Regions from separate parts of the Homo sapiens genome. Here regions 1, 2, 4, 5, 6 and 7 are each linked to region 3. The links are contacts of gene promoters, found by promoter capture Hi-C in blood cells and fetal thymus (Javierre and others, 2016). All regions are on one chromosome and are shown on one strand. The core of a region is centred on a gene start or on the middle of the fragment in contact, and the rest is flanking DNA. Distances in the headings are between cores, read along the strand shown. Region 1 has its middle 2.9 kb from the start of PPIF. Region 2 has its middle 22 kb from the start of ZCCHC24. Region 3 holds the start of TMEM254 (transmembrane protein 254). Region 4 overlaps ZCCHC24 (zinc finger CCHC-type containing 24). Region 5 overlaps ZMIZ1 (zinc finger MIZ-type containing 1). Region 6 has its middle 21 kb from the start of PPIF. Region 7 overlaps ZMIZ1 (zinc finger MIZ-type containing 1).

What was found. Contacts are between HindIII fragments. The CHiCAGO score rates a contact against its expected background, and 5 or more counts as called.
Region 1: a contact is called between a fragment that was not itself captured here and the fragment with the promoter of TMEM254 in region 3, in 1 of 17 cell types (naive CD8 T cells). The highest score is 6.3, in naive CD8 T cells.
Region 2: a contact is called between a fragment that was not itself captured here and the fragment with the promoter of TMEM254 in region 3, in 1 of 17 cell types (M2 macrophages). The highest score is 5.5, in M2 macrophages.
Region 4: a fragment that was not itself captured here is called in contact with the fragment with the promoter of TMEM254 in region 3 in 1 of 17 cell types (M0 macrophages); the score reaches 5.7 in M0 macrophages.
Region 5: a contact is called between a fragment that was not itself captured here and the fragment with the promoter of TMEM254 in region 3, in 1 of 17 cell types (naive CD8 T cells). The highest score is 5.5, in naive CD8 T cells.
Region 6: a contact is called between a fragment that was not itself captured here and the fragment with the promoter of TMEM254 in region 3, in 1 of 17 cell types (M0 macrophages). The highest score is 5.4, in M0 macrophages.
Region 7: a contact is called between a fragment that was not itself captured here and the fragment with the promoter of TMEM254 in region 3, in 2 of 17 cell types (total B cells and activated CD4 T cells). The highest score is 8.0, in total B cells.

The regions. Positions count from the first base shown.
Region 1 is chr10:79,343,209-79,345,908 of GRCh38, forward strand. No RefSeq gene overlaps it. Among named protein-coding and RNA genes, the nearest start is that of PPIF, 2.9 kb to the right of the region's middle. The HindIII fragment of the contact is 2,618 bases long and covers 1-2,588 here.
Region 2 is chr10:79,465,900-79,468,599 of GRCh38, forward strand. No RefSeq gene overlaps it. Among named protein-coding and RNA genes, the nearest start is that of ZCCHC24, 22 kb to the left of the region's middle. The HindIII fragment of the contact is 5,662 bases long and covers 1-2,700 here.
Region 3 is chr10:80,077,330-80,080,029 of GRCh38, forward strand. TMEM254 (transmembrane protein 254) reads left to right here and starts at 1,336. Exons shown (of 4, transcript NM_025125.4): 1 at 1,336-1,457. The coding sequence starts at 1,371. It overlaps TMEM254-AS1 (TMEM254 antisense RNA 1), which reads right to left and starts at 1,864. Exons shown (of 4, transcript NR_027432.1): 1 at 1,398-1,864. The HindIII fragment of the contact is 2,319 bases long and covers 508-2,700 here.
Region 4 is chr10:79,407,310-79,410,032 of GRCh38, forward strand. The region is part of intron 2 of ZCCHC24 (zinc finger CCHC-type containing 24); the gene reads right to left. Among named protein-coding and RNA genes, the nearest start is that of ZCCHC24, 37 kb to the right of the region's middle. The HindIII fragment of the contact is 8,416 bases long and covers 1-2,723 here.
Region 5 is chr10:79,315,037-79,317,736 of GRCh38, forward strand. It overlaps ZMIZ1 (zinc finger MIZ-type containing 1), which reads left to right. Exons shown (of 25, transcript NM_020338.4): 25 at 1-1,483. Among named protein-coding and RNA genes, the nearest start is that of PPIF, 31 kb to the right of the region's middle. RefSeq lists cis regulatory regions at 1,543-2,043, 1,569-2,069, 1,575-2,075, 2,258-2,700, 2,391-2,700 and 4 more and an enhancer at 2,648-2,700. The HindIII fragment of the contact is 1,152 bases long and covers 833-1,984 here.
Region 6 is chr10:79,367,049-79,369,748 of GRCh38, forward strand. No RefSeq gene overlaps it. Among named protein-coding and RNA genes, the nearest start is that of PPIF, 21 kb to the left of the region's middle. The HindIII fragment of the contact is 3,581 bases long and covers 1-2,700 here.
Region 7 is chr10:79,243,955-79,246,683 of GRCh38, forward strand. The region is part of intron 7 of ZMIZ1 (zinc finger MIZ-type containing 1); the gene reads left to right. Among named protein-coding and RNA genes, the nearest start is that of PPIF, 100 kb to the right of the region's middle. RefSeq lists cis regulatory regions at 1-174, 1-178, 570-1,402, 776-1,276 and enhancers at 1,053-1,132, 1,303-1,432, 1,963-2,042, 2,263-2,432, 2,443-2,492 and 1 more. The HindIII fragment of the contact is 936 bases long and covers 930-1,865 here.

The sequences.
Region 1 (2,700 bases), core at 30-2,529, 730 kb before region 3:
CTGTGCATGGAGCAATGGGATCTTCCAGGAGTCCTGGCTGGGGTGGGGTACTATGGGTATGAGTTATCCACTGCACATGGCAAATGACCCAACACTTAGTGGCTTCAAACAACAAACATGGATTATCTTGCAGATACTCCCAGAAGGCAAGCTCTGCTGAGTTGTGAGTTGCAGGGGGCTGTGGCCAGGCAGGTTGTGTGAGAGCCCAGCAGCTGAGGGTGAGCCACACCCTACTGAGCTCCACCCTACCACACTGGCTCCGCTCTCAGTGGCCCGCAGTGATCCAGATCACACGAGTAAAAGACCAGCTGGACTCCAGAGGAGAGCTTCGCCCCATCTTCCCCTTGTGGGTCTCTCTCTGATCACTGTGCCCACCACCTCCCTGGGCCTTAGTGGAACCTCCCTTCTCTGCCTCTGCCTCCCCATCATGGTCTGGTTCTTAGAAGCCAGCAGAGAGAGGATGATGAATGTACTGACTTTGCAAAGGCCACGGGGGACACTCCATCCCCAGAGAGTCCCACAGCAACCCAGTAGAAGGGTCTGGTGGCTTTCTGAGTCGCGGGGAACCTCTCTCTCAGTTTCCCTTCCCATGACAGATGCTATCCTGGACCCCAAACCCCTCAAGCATAACCAGACAGATGAAGTCCATGGCCTCATCCTACCTAAGGACCATTGTCTAGGCTGGCAGCACAGGTTGTATGACCCAGTGACTGGCACTGGTAATGATCTCAGCCTTCATGATATTTAATATTATAGAAACCCCACCTCATGCCCACACCGGGGCTACCTTCACCCCCAGCCCCTCCTGGAGGGTCTCTCCAGAACAACTGTAACTTTGTACCCCACGACAACCACAGCGTTCACTCCTGCCACACACAGGGCTACCTGGGAGAGGTTTGTTCAGCAGTTCCAGCATCTCAGGACACCATAACCTCCTGTCCCTGTCTTTGTCCTTCTGAATCCCCAGGGTGAAGCTCAGGGCTCAGAACACAGTAGGTGCTCTGAAAACATGTCTGCTGAGTGAACTTTGCAGAAAGGGCCCTGGGGAGAGTGAAGAGAGGGTCTGACCACAGTCCTGGTACTGCCCAGCTGTATGGCCTCGGGCCACTCCCCATCCTTCTCTGAGCTTCAGTCCTCTCACCTGTACAGTGGAAATCAGAGCTTACAAACTATCAGCCCAGAGTCCTCATCTAGTTTGGATACGGTGTTTACAGTTCATTCGGTGTTTAATTTTATTTTGAAATTCATTTCAAAAATTTGAAAACTAGATTTCTATAAAACTTAAAGTCTTCAGCTTTTATTGAAAGATGAGAAAACCTGGGTGGCCTGTGTGGACCCATAGTCCCATATACAATAATTGGCTGGCCTGGGCAGCAGCTACCTCTTTACCTGGGACATCCATTAGCTATCTGGATACAGTGCCACCTCCCCTCACTCCCTACATACTTACCAGCTTGCACCACTCATGTGTATCACCTGCCTGGCCCCCGCAGGCATCTGAGTTTGCAACCCCTGAATGAGATTCTGAGCTTAGCACAAACTGATTGTTCTTTGGCTTTGTGAGGCCTAGAGGTGGTGTTACAGGATCCCTAGGTGACAAAACCCATCAGCACCCTGGATAAAAAACCATGTGAGCTGAGTGGAGAGAAACACTGCTGTTTCTGAGGATAACACAGTCTATAAATAGCCTCAGAGCCAGGTGAGTGCTAACACCTGCCTGATGTCACCTGGGCCCGGAGCCCTCAAGGGCTGGGCATGTGTTCAGCTCATGGCTTAGCCTATAGACTATCCTTCTTCCTGATACCACTGAGAACAGAACAGGAAGGGATGACATCATAGCTAAGCCTTTGGGGAAGGTAGGCTTTTCTCTGGCTTAGGAGGTAGTGATGACGTTTGATTTTCCAAAGAGAGTGGAAGGAGTAACATGAATGAAAGAAGCTGGTTCCCAGTCCAGAGTCCTCAGCATGGAGTCTTTGCACTATTCATGGCTCCCCAGTGCTATCCAACAATGTCAGACCTCAGCCAGGCCTTCAGAGCCCTCTGTGATTGGGTCCCCACAGGCCTTTCAGCTCATGCTCACTATTAAAACCATCTCCCTAGTCCCTGAGCTCCATAGCCCCCTGGCCAACTCCACCGTTTCTATCTTACTGTGTTGTCTGCCCAGGCTTATCTCTCTTGCCTCCCCACCCTGTCCCAAGGACCAGCTTCGTGGTGAGAGTGAGAAGGGTTTGACATGCAATAACCCTGATTGTGAAGTCAGACAGACTGGTCCCAGTTCCAACAGCCTGCCCTTGGGCAATTCACTCCCCAGCCCCTGGGGCCTGGCTTCCCCATCTGCAAAACAGAGCTGTCTCTCAGGCAGAGTTCACAGCTGGGAAAGGGTTCTGAGAACTGAAGTGGTCAAGTGAATGAAGGCAGCACTCCCCTGGGGTGGGGATGCTCATGCTTCATCAGGATGGGGCATAAACTGAGTCCCCCCAGGAGCAGGCTTGAGAAACAACAGGGTACGCTGAGCTACCTGCTGTGGCTGAAGGTCCTGTGAGCTCAGGGCCTGGAACTGGCCGCAGGGAAGCCTGGGGCCTTAAGGAAGCTTCATGACAAGGCACATGGCGTGATTCCTCCACTCTCAAATCCACAGGATGCACTGGTAGAGGAAGGTCTGGGACATGTGCTGAGGGCTCAAGTGGGCTCCCCACTCAG
Region 2 (2,700 bases), core at 30-2,529, 610 kb before region 3:
AGTCCCAGCTACACGGGAGGCTGAGGCAGGAGAATGGCGTGAACCCGGGAGGCGGAGCTTGCAGTGAGTCGAGATCGCGCCACTGCACTCCAGCCTGGGCGACAGAGCAAAACTCCGTCTCAAAAAAAAAAAAAAAAAAAAAAAAAAAAAAAAAAAAATTAAATTAAAAAATTAAAACAAATGAAAACAAATCAAATAACCCAATTTTTAAAATGGGAAAACAAATATTTCTTTAAAGAAGACATACAAATGGCCAATAGGTGCATGAGAAAATGCTCAATATCATTAGTCATTTGGGAAATGCAAATCAAAACCTCTGTGAGATACCACTTCGTACCCACTGGGATAGGCAAAGATGTGGAGAAATTGGAACCCTCAAACATTGATGGTAGAAATGTAAAATGGTGCAGCCACTATAGAAAACAGTTTGGGGCTGGGAGCAGTGGCTCACGCCTGTAATCCCAGCACCTTGGCAGGCCAAGGAAGGCAGATCGCTTGAGGTCAGGAATTCGAGACCAGCCTGGCCAACATGGTGAGACCCCATTTCCACTAAAAGATACAAAAAATAGCCAGACGTGGTGACAAGCGCCTGTAATCCCAGCTACTCAGGAGGCTGAGGCAAGAGAAACACTTGAACCCTGGAGGCGGAAACTACAGTGAGCCGAGATTGTGCCACTGCACTTCACCCTGGGTGACATAGGGAGAGTCTTGTCTCAAAAAAAAAAAAAAAATTAAAAAAAATTTTAAAAAAGAACACAGTTTGGTGGCTCCTCAACGAGTTAAACAGAGAATTGCCACATGACTCAGCAATCCCACTTCTAAGTCTATACCCAAAAGGATTGAAAACAAACAGGTACTTAAATAGTTGTACACAAATGCTCATAGAAGCACTACTCGCAATAGACAAAAAGTGGAAATCACCCAGATATCCATCAATGGATGAATGGGTACAAAAAAATGTGAACATTATTCAGCCATTACAAAAAGTAAAGTGCTGATGCATGCTACAACATAAATAAACTTTGAAAACGTTATGGTAAGTGAAAACGGCCATACTTAAAAGGTCAAATTTTGTATGATTCTATTTATATGAATGTCCAGAATAGGCAAATCTGTAGACACAGAAAGCAGCTTGTTGGATGCCAGGGGCTGGGGAGGGTGGAGGGATAATGGCAAGTGACCACTAGAGAGTATGGGGTTTCATTTCGGGGTGATGAAAATGTCCTGGAATTAGATAGTGGTAACGGTTGCACAACTCTGTGAATACACTAGAAAACACTAAATGTTGTATTTTAAAAAGGTGAGTGATATGTTATGTGAATCATATCTCAATTGAACAAAAGAAGGCTGTAGGCTGGGCATGGTGGCTCACGCCTGTAATCCCAGCACTTTGGGAGGCCGAGGCAGGCGGATCACCTGAGGTCAGGAGTTCAAGACCAGTCTGGCTAACATGGTGAAACCCCGTCTCTACTAAAAAGTACAAAAATTAGCCTGGAGTGGTAGTGTGTACCTGTAATCCCAGGTACTCAGGAGGCTGAGGCAGGAGAATCGCTTGAACCGGGAGGCGGAGGTTGCAGCCACTGCACTCCAGTCCAGTCGACAGAGCAAGACTCTGTTTCAAAAAAAAAAAAAAAAAAAGGCTGTAAACTCCTTGGTCAATTGTGAGAACTTGTTCTCCAGCGCCCCCTATGGGGGATCACAGACTCTGTTGCCTCCATGTTGAAGGACAGGATAGCCAGGGACCTGGAACAAGAGCCCTGGCAAAGTAGCTTGAGCAAAAGGGAAGATTTGCCAGATAGATGCAGAAATATCTGATGGTACCTGAGGGCAGCCAGGGCAGGACTTTCAAGGCAGTGAAGACACAAAGGGGGAAGCTGGCCGGAGCCCAGGCAGCCCCTCTCCCAGCCTCCTTCCTTTCTCTGCCCCAACCTCCTCAGGCTCCAGGGACTTCTGTTTTTCTCTGTTATGTAAGAATCCTCATGACCAGTCTGAAGGTTCTGTCTGCTTATCGGTGGCTCACCAGTGGAGCCCTGGAAACACCCGACCCTGGCACTCTATGTTCCAGCTCTAGGAGATAGTGGACCTGCCTGGCTTCTGGATTAATTCTCCGTGGTCAAACGTCCACTCAAAGTCCGATCAGCTGGACCTCAGAAGAGGCTGGAAATGGGCTGCTCCTCTTGGATCCTAAGGATGGTTTGTGTCACTAAGCAGGAGACAGACAGGGCTGAAGAACACAGAAACCAGGAACTCAAATATGCTGTGTCTCTTCTCTCTGTTTCCCTCCCTCTCAGCTCTCTCCCTGCACTGCACACTGGCAGCAGCTCCAGACCTGCACACCCTGGAGAAGGAAGGATTGGGATTCTTCCACTTCCAACCCAGTGAATCTGAGGGAAGAACTCTGCCTAATCCAGCTTGTCCTGAGGTCAAAGAAGCCCCAGAGGAAGGGTGATAATACTGCTAGGGCCCCCTCTATAGGCGTGTGCATGGGGTGGAACAGTTCCCAAGAAGGGGAGGGGAAGGCACAACTACAGTCATCTACTACAAGATCTATAAAAGCTGGGGAGAGGGGTTGAGGAGAGCATAGGACCACCAGCCTGTCTGATCAACATGTGAGGCCTTCTTGGAGGAAGGCAGGATTTCCAGAGTGTTTCCATGGTAGGAACGTTACTATTTGCCATCAAATTGCAGGATTGCTAGAAC
Region 3 (2,700 bases), core at 86-2,585:
AGTTGGGACTATAGACACGCGCCACCACCCCCAGCTAATTTTTTGTATTTTAGTAGAGACAGGGTTTCACCATGTTCTCCAGGGTGGTCTCGAACTCCTGAGCGATCCACCCACCTCGGCCTCCAAAAGTGCCAGGATTATAGGCTTGAGCCACTGCGCTTGGCCAGTAACCCATTTTTAAGGCCCAGGTGAAATAGTTTTTCTATTTCTATGATTTTCTATTTCTATGATTAAATAGTGTTTAATCAGACACTTCAGCTGCATATACCTCCCACAGCTCATTGATGATACAACAGTTCGCACAGGGCCTGGCACACATGCTAAAGGCTCAGCAGTATTGATAATCACCCACACTTACAAAGCACTATGGGCCAGACACTGCTGTGCTTTCTTTACAGATATCAACTCATTTAACCCACCCTAAAAACCCTGAGGTTCCCAAAACTGGCATATCCTCATGTTACAGATACAGAAACTAAGACACAGCCGGGCTAAGTAATTAATCTAAGCTTACACAAATAGCCGAGACAGAGCCAGGACTTAAATCCAGGCAGCCTGTTTCACAGTCCCTGCTCATAACCATGGTGCTGTATAGTTCCAAACATCTTAACTAATGAGGACAGCATTATTTCTCAAGGTGCACAGCACAGAGAACTTCAAAAATTAGACTCTTAGTAAAACACCATCTTTTTTTTTTTTTTTTGAGACAGGGTCTTGCTGTGTTGCCCAGGCTGGAGTGCAGTGGCGTGATCTGGGCCCACTGCAACCTGCACCTCTCAGGTTCAAGAGAGTCTTGTCTCAGCCTCTGGAGTTGCTGGGACTACAGGCAGGCACCACCGCGCCCAGCAAATTTTTTGTATTTTTAGTACAGACGGGGTTTCACCATGTTGACCACGCTGGTCTCAAACTCCTGACCTCAAGTGATCTGCCCGACTCGGCCTCCCAAATTGCTGGAATTTATTCCAACACCTCATTCATTCATTCATTCATTCGAGACAGAGTCTAGCTATGTTACCCGGGCTGGTCTCAAACTCCTGGGCTCAAGGGATCTTTCTACCTCAGCCTCCCAACGTGCTGAGATTACAGGGACACGCCACCGCGCCAGCCCGAACATCTTTATCTTAAACCCAGAAAAGTGACAGGAGTGTCTCCCCTACAAGATGATGACCAGCCCTCCAGACCTGAGCCCAGGTGTGATTCCAAGGCCCCTGTACTGGGGCCAGACAGGGAGACTCGCTCTCAGGGACTTCCCAACCAGCACCATCTTCTCCCTGCGGGGATGGCGAGGGAGCGCGGGCCGGCCCCGGCCCTGCCTCCGCGCTCGCGCTCGACGGTGTCCTGAAGCGCGCTCCCGGGGAGGTGTTGCAGCCATGGCTACGGCAGCCGGCGCGACCTACTTTCAGCGAGGCAGTCTGTTCTGGTTCACAGTCATCACCCTCAGCTTTGGCTACTACACAGTAAGGACAGCCGCTGGAGCGCTACGGTCTGACGAACGAGCGAGCGCTCGGTTCACCCCAGGACCTGGGCTCACAGGCCGCGGGCCGGGGGAAGTCGTGCAAGCACAATCCCGACTCCCGCGCGCTAGGAGCGGAGGGGAGGGGACCAGACTCCGCAATGAGAGCAAGCATACTGGTCCGCCAGGGTCTTGGGCGGGCGCCCAGGGCCCTGAGAAACCGGCTAGCCAGGCTTTTCTTATATGGGGGCGGGGACGGCTGGGGAGCTCCCAGCCAACTCTGTGTCTGGGTTTTTCAAGAGGATGGTGAAGTCGGAGGCCAGCAATGCGGCTACCGCCTATTTCCGTCCAGCAAGACCCTTGCCCTCTCTGGTCACAGTCCTGGGGCTGGGCTACTTCGCGGTGAGGCGTGGGGTGGGGCGGGGCGGGCCTCTGTTTTGGCCCGCCGGGCCCTCGTAGGGCGAGGGGAGCTCTGGGAACGGGGCCTGTGCGCACGCGCATCTGACGGTTGTCTCGGTTACTCATGTAAGCGGAAATTCGGTGGGCTCTTAGGATAGTTTCTGCTTTCTAGTGTTCCTGTCTTTGGGTCCTCACCTCTGCATGGTTACTAACGGGTTATCCGAGCCTAAGCCTCTCACGAAGCGGAAAGTCAAGTTAACAGACTGCCATAGGCCTGCCAAGTCAGAATAGGGCTTCCGAAGCAGAATGTTTGAGCCAATAGGAATTGTTTGGAAAACGGGGATAAATCTAAAGGATGGGTAGGATTTAAGTGGTAAGGGAGGATAAAGAGGCTATAACTGTTCTGACATAGGTGTGGAAGCAAGAAGAAAGCTGTACCTAGAAAAAGAGCGACGTTTGTTTGGCTGAGAAATAATCTGTTTAAAGGATAACGAGAAAGATGCGTGGAAAAGTAGGTTGGGGGCTAAGGTGGTAGTTTTGTGTTTTTTTGAGACGGAGTCTCGCTCTGTCACCCAGGCTGGAGTGCAGTGGGGCGATCTCGGCTCACTGCAACCTCTGCTTCCCAGGTTCAAGCGATTCTCATGTCTTTACCTGTAGCTGGGATTACACTATGCCCAGCTATTTTTTTGTGTTTTTAGTAGACATGGGTATTGGTGAGGCTGGCCTCGAACTCCTAACGTCAAGTGATAAGGTGGTAAAATTTTGAAGGAAGGCGAAGCTATTTGGGTATACCAATAGATCCTGGAGATTGGAGATTTGTCTTGTCCACAGTGTTGTTTGTTGGTGTC
Region 4 (2,723 bases), core at 98-2,597, 670 kb before region 3:
ACAGGGCTGGGAGCGCCAGTCCACATTCCCCAGCAGGAAGTGAAGGCTCATTCTGAAGCCATACGGCTGTGCTCGTCTTTCTGATTCCAGATTCCTGAGCCCCTGCTTCTAGAGCACACGCTCTTCTTCGCTCACGAGAGCACGCACAGGACCATCGGGGCATTGGTACACTGCACGCTGCTGCCCTGGCCCCAGAGTCTCAGAATCAATAGGTCTGGGGAGGGCCTGAGAACCAGAGTCTCAAATGCCTGGGCGGTGCAGCTGCTGCTGGTCTGGGGACCCACCTAGGGAGCCACCGCCCCAGTGATCCTGGTCACAGTCTGTTAAAGTCCAGTCAGATACTGTCACCTCCATGCTGTCCCCATCTGCCCATTCTACAGCCCAGGAAACTGAGGCACAGAGAAGGCAAGTGACTTGCTCAAGCCATACAGGAAGTTAGGGTCAGAGCTGGGAGTGGAGCGCAGGGCTCCTCACCCCAGGAGCTGGGCTGGTTGCAGGACAGTGAGGCTGCTGGGCTTGAGAGGGGAAAGCCTGGATTGGGGGAGAAAGGCCCATCTCTTTAAAAGCAAGACCGGCGGTGGTGTCAGTGGCGGCGGGGTACTGGGGAGGGCTGGCCTGGCTCTCCTGGCCCAGCCCCAAACCTGTGACTCCTCAGCATCTGGAAACCATCACCGGGAACAATGATCATGGAGCAGGAGGCCGGGCTGCTCAGGGGCTCCAGCCCTGTCTGTTCAGGAAGGCAAAGGAACACAGAGCCTGCAGGCACCTCCTGCCCCCACCTCCACCACCGATGTTTGCCTTGGCACCAACACACACAGCTCCCAGTGGGCCCAGCTGTTGGGAAAAGTCAGCCCCTGAGCTACAGATGTGGAGGCTGGTGGCAAGATTGGGTGCCCAGAAGCCTGGACGGAAGCCAGTTGACCCCAGCTTAGCTCCCTGCTCTGCCTGCACGACTCCTGGCTTATGATTATAGCACTCTGGGCCTCAGTTTCCCTGCAGGGAGCTCAGGGACTACCCAGGTTAGGCCAGCTGCTTACTATATACTGGCATGTATCTGACCAGCTTGATGCCTGGATCCCAGGTGCCCCCAGGGATCCCGCTTGTTGTCTGCAGGCCAAACAACCAGCCAGGGAGCAGGGAAGGCTTTGGAGCACCAATCACCACGTGCATTTACTTCCTTTCCACATGTGCCCTCGACAACTATGAATTAGGCACCCACAAGGCACTGGAGGAGGGTGGTTAACAAGACAGATGCAACCCCGGCCCCCATGAACTTACAGCCAGGCGCGGAAGAAAAGTAAGTATCCCATTCAGATCATTAAAGCTGTGATGAGAGATATGAAGGAATGGGGTGTCGTGGCAGAGGAGAATGGGGATCCCCTCTTCACAGTGAGAAGCCATACAGAAGGTCTGTTCAGGGCAGTCAACCATTCCCATTCCCAGTCTCTGACGGTTCACAGCCTAAACTGCAAAAGGTGGGTGTTTCTGACCTCCTTCCTGTCCCTGACCCAGTCCCTACACACTGCCACCAGCAAGCTCTGTGACCTGGGATAAGCCCCTTCCCTGCCTGGGTCTCAGTTTCCCCATCTGTCCATGATGGGGGGATAAAGTAAAATCAGGAAAGGCAAATACTTCTCCCTGTGTGTCCACTCGTAACTTGCCACAAAACTACTGTGGTGTGAAGGATTCTGCAGCTATATCCAAGCTCGACAGGCAAGAATGGTGTGATTTTCGTGGTGCCTGCCCTGCCATGGCCGGGGGCAGCAGGCACACATGACTTGAGTTGGCATTCCTGACCTAGATGATCCCTAAAGATCCTTCCAATGCAAATAGTTCCATGAGTAGACAGCACACAGGCTTGAGAAGTGGACAGAGTCCAAGTCCTGGCCACTGCTTCTGCACACCTCTGGGCATGTAACAGAGGCTAGTTTTTGCCAGGCTTGGGCCACTTGGGTGCTGGGCTTTCAAAGCACAACCCTGGCTGCGGAAGCTCTTTAGAACTGTGACTCTTCCTCCAGGGAGCCTTTCCTACCAGCACTTCTAGCAGACATCTCCCCTGCCCTCCAGGGACCCCCTGTACCTTGTGGATCTCTGTAGGAAGCACTTAGGATACACCCCTCTCAGCTCATGTGTCTGTCACCTCCTTCCCTGCCCTCTCCTCAGGGACAGAGACCCTGTAGGGGTCCCCTCTGATTCCCTGGGCCCAGCGTGGGTCTGGCACAGGACAGGGGGCTCTGGGGAGCAGGTGAAGGGCAAGTGACCATTTGGACATGACTATCAGCCTGAGAGAAGTATCTGGAAGAGAAAGCCAGAGGGGTAGGGGAGGTGTGGGGATGGGGCAGGCAGCGGCCTGGCAACTTCCTGGGCAAGCATGCTGGTCGCTGTTCCTGGTCCTCAGTGTGGCTATTGTCCCTGATGGTCCAGGGAACGGGCTCAATAGGGCCTCTGTCCCTCCCTGAGCAGGCCAGCCCAGCTCAGTGGTGTCCCACCCGGGCAGCTGGAAGGCGAGGGCCGACACTTCCTGTCCCCACTGCGAGTGTTTGGAGGAGCAGGGGGAGGACGGGGGCTCTCAAGACAAGCACCCATCTGTGTCCCCCAGAGAAGAGCTGCCCAGCTGGGGGAGGAGGCGGGAGAAGGGAGAGCAAGGCAGGGGATGCGTTCAACCCTGTGCCTCCGCCCCTCCCCTCCCAGCCAACTCTCCCTCTGAGCTGGAGCTGTCAGGA
Region 5 (2,700 bases), core at 159-2,658, 760 kb before region 3:
TGGATCCACGGCTTTCCAGTGCGGAGAGTCGAGATGCTCCCTGCAGCCCAGGCCCCGGGCACCTCCTGCAACCATCTCTGGGCTCAGCACCTGAGGCGGGTTTCCTGGGTCCCCTCTCCAGCAAGCCTCCACCAGCAAGCTCGGCCCAGAGCTTCCCTTCCGGCTGGCTCTGAACCGTGCGTGGTGCCTACAGCCTGCAGTCTGGAGACAAGCTCTTCCGGAGTGCTCTGGGAGCCAGGCCAGGGTGTGAGGGAGGTGCAGAGGCATCCGGGGCGGGAGCAAGCCCCAGGTTGTGACAGGTGCAGGTAGACAACGCCCATAAACAGAGATGGTCCTGAACTCTGGAGAGATCCTTCCCTGATCCTTTCGGACGACTACTTGGAGCCATAAGTAACCTCAGCAAAAACGAGGCCTCTGCAAGCCACTTTTCCATGCCAAGCATCCACCCGGCCCACAGGCATGTTTCTGCCGCCACTCCGCAAGATGGACAGGGAGCCAGCAGGCAGGCGGGAAGGGCCAAGTACAGGCAATCACCCCCATCTTCTTGGTTTGAAGCTTTATCCATGTATCATGTTCCGTGTAGCCATTTTATTTTTTAAGAAACTGCTAATACTTTCTCCCTAATGGAAGCCCTGATCCCCCAGAGAGCTACAGGTCTGCTCCCGACGGGCCTCGGGCCTGACCCGTCCACACAGGGCCGTGTCAACAGCAGCGACTCAAGGGACGTGTGTACATATGTAAATGAGAAATAGAGACGTGTCAACAGATGCATTCATTTCTCTTGGAATGTGTATTGTTTTTATTTTGCGAAACAAAACAAAACAAAAAAAAAAGCTTGGAACTCCATCACGTGGAAAAACTAGATCCTGTTGGTTATAGCATTTGTGAGTTCTCCACGTCTGTCTCTCTCGCTCATGTAATATACTCTGACCCTGAGTGGAAAGGGGTTTTTGTTCTGTTTTTATTTTACCTACATGTACTATTTAGCTTCAGTGTACTAGTCCTGCCACCTGTGTATTTTTAGGGTGCTATGGAAATAATGAAAAGAAACGGGGATTTCAGAAGAAAATTGTAACCAAATTCATACTTTGTATAATTTTTGATATCATGATCACAGGTGATTCACACGTACACACATAAACACACCCACCAGTGCAGCCTGAAGTAACTCCCACAGAAACCATCATCGTCTTTGTACATCGTATGTACAATGCAATCATTTCATACTTTAAACTGGTCAAAAAACTAATTGTGATTTCTAGTCTTGCAAAGCTGTATGTAGTTAGATGATGTGACAACCTCTAATATTTATCTAATAAATATGTATTCAGATGAAACCTGTATATTAGGTGTTCATGTGGTTATTTTGTATTTAAAGATCAAATTATTTGACTATTGCTAGACATTTCTATACTCTGTTGTAACACTGAGGTATCTCATTTGCCCATGTTAATTTTTTTCTAAATAAATTGACAAAAACAAAGGTTTGGCGAATTAGCTATTTTGTGGATGTTAAGGAGTGGTTTGGGTGTTTTTGCTTTTGTTTTAAACCACACCCCCCGCCCTGTTACCCTCTGCACACACAAAAAAGAAAGGCAGGTGGTTTGGGTGTTGAATTGGAAGAACCCCTGTCCATGGGGGTCCCTGGAACCAGTCCCTGGTGGGGCAAGTGCAGTGTGTGGCCGGATGGTTGGGGGAGTTGGGGTGGCTGAATAGGGCCAGGTGGCTGCAGGGTGCTAGGGGCCCCTGTGGCATGTGACTCAGAGTGTGCAACAGTGTCCCATCTTTGATGGTCCCTTGTGGATTATGCTGGGTTTAAGTAGCAGGAAGCTATTCATATTAAGCCACAGAGGGTGCTGTTCAGAGCACACAGGAGTGTGGCTTCAATGGAGAGTGAGCATTCACTGCACCCATGGCTCCCTGCTGGCATCTCAGCATCCCTGGCCTCCACCTCTCGGTACACCTGCCCCTCCCCTCCTAGGGAAGCTTGGGTTTTCCCTCCTCCGTGAGCATGCTTTACATGGGGTACTGTCTCACGATAGCCCCTGCCCAGGCCATGGTTCTAACCATCCTTCCAGCCTCGGCACCAACACAAACTGACAACACTTGATGTGTCTCCGATTGAAGTTTTAGGAACATGCATCTGACACAGCCCCGCAGCCAGTCCCTGCCCTCCCTCCACGCAGCCTCACCTTAGGGGGAAAGCAAATGTGGCTGTCATGGCCTTTCCTCCACAGGGACTGTCCACAGAGGGAAGAAGGGCCGGGCCGGCACCCCAGAGATCTCCACTCAGATGTATCCGGGTGTCAGGAGAGTGAGGGGCATGTGTGTGCAGGAGCCGGCGGTGTGGGGGAGGCTGCAGGGTGCTGCCTGTAGGGGGCTGGGTGCCTAGAAGCCCCCTGCTCCTGGGGCCTCTCCGAGGTGGCTGGAGTTTCTCCTTTTGGAGGGAGGTGGAAGGTGAGGAGGAGAAAAGATTTACCTTAAATAATGGAACACCCACCGGCCACTGCTCAGCTGCAGGCACTGCCTTCTGCCAGCATCACCAGGACAGGCTGACTCTCTCTGAACAGACACCCCTCCGAGAGGAGGGTGATTAGTTAGCTTGAGGGAGAACTTCCCGTAGGAGACATGCCCCCCTCCCTGTGCCTTAGAGCAGTGTGGTGGGGCTGGACCAGCACTTTAATAAAACAAATGAGAATA
Region 6 (2,700 bases), core at 13-2,512, 710 kb before region 3:
TAGATATGAGTAGAATTGAGATTACAGAAATAAACTCATACATCTATGGTCAACTGATTTTCAACAAAGATGCCAAGAGCATTCAGTGGGAAAAGAATAATCTTAACAAGTGGTGCTGGGACAACTGGATAATCACATAGAAAAGTATAAATCTCAACCCTTACCTCACATCATAAACAAAAATTAACTCAAAATGATCAAAGAAGCCTAAACCCCCCAAATAAAGCAAGACCCCCATCTCTACAAACAAATTAAAACGTAGCCAGTTGTAGTGGCACACCTATAGTACCAGCTACTCAGGAGACTGAGGCGGGAGGATCACTTGAGCCCAGCATTTTGAGGCTGTACTGAGCCATGATGGCACCACTGCACCTCAGCTTGGGCCACAGAGTGAGACCCTCTCTAAAATAACAAAAACAACAACAACAAAAATGGATGAAAGACCTAAACATAAGGGCATAACTAGATAACTTTTTAAAGAAAATATAGGGATAAATTTTTGTGACATGTGCAAACATCGTGTCTTATTCCTGATCTTAAGAGGAAAGCATCCAGTCTTTCAGATTTGCCAAATGATTCATAGATATGAAAACAAAGCATGAGCAACAGAAGGGAACAAAAATAGAAAAAGATAGATTAAGACTTCATCAAAATTTAAAACTTTTGTGGTTCTCCCACACAATGGAAGAAAATATTTGCAAATCATATATCAGATAAGGGACTTGTTTTTAGAATATATGAAGAGCTCTGACAACTCCATGATAAAAAGACAAATATCCCAATTTTAAAACATGCAAAAGATTTGAACAGACATTTCTCCAAAGAAGATGTACGATTGGCCAATAAGCACATGAGAAGATGCTCAACCTCATTAGTCACCAGGGAAACACAAATCAAACCCACAATGAGATACCGCTTTATACCCGCTAGGGTGGTTAGATTAAAAAGTCAGATAATAGTAAATGTTTGCAAAGATGTGGAGAATTTGAAACTCTCGAGCATTGCTGTGGGATACAAAATGGTCCAACTGCTTTGGAAAACTGCCTGGCAGTTTCTGAGATGATTAAAGATAGAGTTATCCTATGACCCAGCAATACCATTCCTAGGTATGCACCCAAGAGAAATGAAAACGCATCCATAGAAAAACCTGTACACAAACTTTTATAGCAGCGTTATTCATAACGGTCAAAAGGTAGAAACAACCCAAATGTCCATCCATGGGCAAATGGATAAAGAAAATGTGGCATAGCCATACAATGAAATAGTATTTGGTTATAAAAAGAAATGAAGTACTGATACCTGCTACAACCTGGATGAATCTTGAAAACATTATACTATGTGAAAGAAGTCAGTCACAAAAGACAACATAGTATATGATTCCATATGACGTGCCCAGAATAGATAAATCCATAGAGATGGAAAATAGATTAGTGGTTGTTTAGGGTTGAAGAGAGTAGATGGGGCAGGGTATCAATGCATGTTGGCTGAAGTTACAAGGGTTCTTTATGGGATGATAAAAATGTTCTAAAATTGACTTTTGTGATTGTTGCATATATCTGTGAATATACTATCAACATTTTCATGGGTAAATTGTATAGTGTGTGAACTATATCTCAGTAAATCTGTTTAAAAATATGTATAGACAGTCCCTGACTTATGATGGTTCAACTTACAGTTTTTTCAGCTTTACAATATGCATTCAGTAGAAACTGTACTTTGAGTACCCATAGGACTATTCTGTTTTTACTTTTGGTACAGTATTCCATAAATCACATGAAATATTCAGCACTTTCTTATAAGAAAGGATTTGTGTTAGATGATTTTGCCCAACTGTGGGCTAATGTAAATGTTCTGAGCACATTTAAGGTAGGCCAGGCTAAACTCTGATGTTTGGTAGGTTAGGGGTATTAAATGCATTCTCAACTTATGACATTTTCAATTTACATTGGGCTTATCAGGATGTAACCCCATCACAAGTTGAGGAGCATCTATATTAGCAAAGTCTCACAATTCTTTGGGTGTGTAAGCTGTTTCCTCTGGAATCCTGCTGTTCCTCTGGAAAATGCTGAGATTCGACACCTATTATGGGTCTGGGGAGTGATTGTAGCAGGCCTTGAGCATCCCCTTTCAAACCTTATGAGGTTATCACAGTGCTTTTAAGCAAAGAAGTGTCTTTTCCTCAGACACAGGAGAGCAAGCTAATTCCATTGGTAAGGAAGAAACAGAGTAGCTTGAGGGTTCAAGTTGTTGGTTTCATTTTGATCCAATCAGGCGACTCCATTCCAAATTTCAGGATCTCATTTGAGACAAAGTCTCACTCTCTTGCTCAGGCTGGAGGGTGGTGGCATAATCAAGTCAAGTCACTGCAACCTTGACTTCCTGGGCTCAAGTGATCCTCCTGCCTCAGCCTCTCGAGTACCTGGGACTACAGTTATGCACCACCATGCCTGGCTAAATAAATTTTATTTTATATTTTATTTTATTTTATTTTTGTTTAGTAGGGAAGAGGTCTCACTATGTTGTCCAGGCTGGGATCTCATTCTTTTTGTATTTTCTGTTTGTTTGTTTGTTTGTTCATTTTTTCAGATGGAGTTTCACTCTTTTTGCTCAGACTGGAGTGCAATGGTATGATCTCAGCTCACTGCAACAACCTCTGCCTCCCAGGCTCAAGTAATTCTCCTGCCTCAGCCTCCTGAGTAG
Region 7 (2,729 bases), core at 148-2,647, 830 kb before region 3:
CTTCATTTCTCTTTGGGGCCACGGGGCAGAGTGCGCCCCCACCCAGGTCCCTGAAGGTGAAGTGTTGGCTCTCCAGCAGACATTTTACGAGGCTCTGTGCTCAGTCGGCTCACGCTGCAAAAATAAGAATCGGCCAGGATGCCTTCGGAGGCAGCGCCTGAGGGTCCTCGACTTCAAGCTGCTCCTTTGTCAGAATGCAGCCCTGATGCCTCCAGCGCGTAGAGACCCCACGGGCACTGGTGATGCCACCATTGCGGCAGGGTGCCCTTCGCAAAGGTGGTGGGTGCCGAATAGACTTCTGACAAGTGTTTGCTGGCAAGCTGGCTAGAGGAGAGAGGTGGATTTGCACCAGAGGGCAGGAAGCAGCCTTTCAGGAGATGCCTGGTTGTGAGGACCTTGTACAAGACCTTGGAGAAAGAGCCCCTTGATAGGGACTAAGAGGAGGCTGCCTGGGGTCCTGAGCATGTGGTTTTGGTATTGGTGTCTTCGAAGCCAAGCCATGGTGCGGTGGGCACCAGATAGGTACCAGTTCCTGGGTCGAGAAGCCCTCTGGGGGGAAACTAGGAGAGGTCAGCTGGCACTTCTTTAGACGGGTTTCAGGAGACTGTCATTCCTGCAGTGGGGACCCAGTCCCTTCGCCCTTGACCATCAGGCGAGACTGCCAGATGAGTGTTGAGCAGGGCTGATGGCTCTTCCAGCAGGAAGGCTTTGTGTGGCAGGTGGCATGGAGTTGGTGCCAGTGTGCTTCTCATTGGCCCATCTTTGAGAGTGGCCACAGAAATTGGGCTGAGGAGAGAAATCAGGCTGAGAGTCAGAAATCTGGCTGAGGAGTGAGTTGGGGTGAAAAGGCCGTGCCATCCTGAAGTCAGGGTGACCCCAGATGTTACGTGGGGGCTCCGGCTCCCCCAGTTATGGGGCTCTGGGCCTGAAGCTTATCTCCCATCTGCTATGGAGGAAAGGCCCTGTCCCAGGGGTTGCGTGGAAGGGTGACTCTTGGAGTCCACGTGGCTCCTAACAAGCCTTTCCCCTTTTTTTGTGTATAAGCCAGGCAGTGACTACCCTCCAACTAGCTGGATTCAAGTCCCCTTCTGAGCTATTTTTATCCTGAACTTCCTTAGTGAGAAACCACCAAACGGCGATGCTTTGGTGAGAATCTAGGTCTTTACCGGAAGCGCAGCCTGCACAGAGTTTACACCTCGCTACATAAGGCTGCCTCCACTGCCCTGCACAGCCCTCCCCTGGCTCAGAGCCCCTGTGCCTCTCTCATGCCTCTTGATTCTCATCACAGCCTGTGCGCTCAGGGACTTTTGAGCCCCAGTTTCAGATGGGAAAACTGATGTGCCCGAGATCATCCAGTTGGGGATGTAGGAGGCCAGGCCTGGCTCCAACAGGAGCAAGACCTTGATGCCAGTGGGCTCCCTGAAGGCAGGGACCACGTGTTTCTCATCACCGTATGCCCCAGTGCCAACTGTGGTGCCTGGCGGATGGTGGGTGCCCAGTGGCTGCTGAATGATGATGGCACGAGTGGAAGGCTGGTTGGGTGTGTTTTCCCCATTGGAGTTGGGACGGGGTCGGGGGGCAGAGGGATTGAAAGAGCACTTCCAGATCTCAGTCTGCATTGGTTGAGCACCCAGTCCATGCAGTCCCTGGGAACTCTGAGATGAGTCCCTAGTCTGGAGTCAGGCAGCTAGAGGGAGAAAGGTGCTTCCACAGAGGTTCTGCGGAAGTCCTGCCCGGGGCTTCCTGAATGTTGCCCCAGGGAGTAAGGAGTGACTGAGCTGGGTCTAAGATGACGCCATTCAGTACAGTAGCCACTGGCCACATGTGGCTGTTTGTGAATTTCAATTAATTAAAGGGATGAGTTAAGCTTATCCTTGGCACTAACCACATTCAAGCACTCAGTAGCCACCGAAGGCTGGTAGCCGCCTTGTTGGGCAGCTCAGACTCTAGAACATGTCCACCACAACAGGAAGCTCCATGGACGACAGACAGCGCTGTCCAGGAGGATAGACTTAAGACAGAGGTGCAGTGAGGACACTAGCTCAGAGCCCACAAGTGTAACAGTGCAGGCGAGTCTGTTAGATAAAGAGACCTCCTGTTTCTCTAGCATTTGTTTTGTGGCAGCCTGCTGCGGGGAAGGAGTAGACCAGCCAGGCATTCCCATTTAACACAGGAGAAAACTGAGGTTCACTTTTGCCCAAGGTCATCCAGCAAGAGGGTGGCATGAGTCCCAGGTCTCCAACCCCTTGGCCAGCACTCTGTCATCCAGCAGAGGTCAGCCAGGGGGCACGAGTGGGCAGCGGTCCCAGGAGCAGCCTCAGACCTCCCTGAGGGACAGTCTTGGTGCCAGTAGGCGTCAGTCCCTGTGAAGTCATCCATTGATCGGGCGGGAGCGCCAGCTCAGCCTCGGGTCCTCAGGAACAGAGAGTTCTGTGCTGGCAGAGCTGGAAGGAGCGGGCGCGAGGCTCTCTGGGCAAGGGAGGTGTTTACCTTGAGCGATGCGGCATGGGTCCCTCGGGAGAGGCTGGCTCCTCCATGGGGAAGGAACTCCTCAGTGGGGCCTGTGGCTGGGATCCTTAGCACCACCTCAGAGAGAGGGGTACAGGCCCGAACCCAGCAGGGAGAAGGATTTCGGGACCTTTGACTGGTACAGAGTGCACCTCACCCTTGCTCTTGCCCCGCCACACCGTGTCACAGAGCATCTGCTGGGCCTCCCTCGCCCTCCTTCC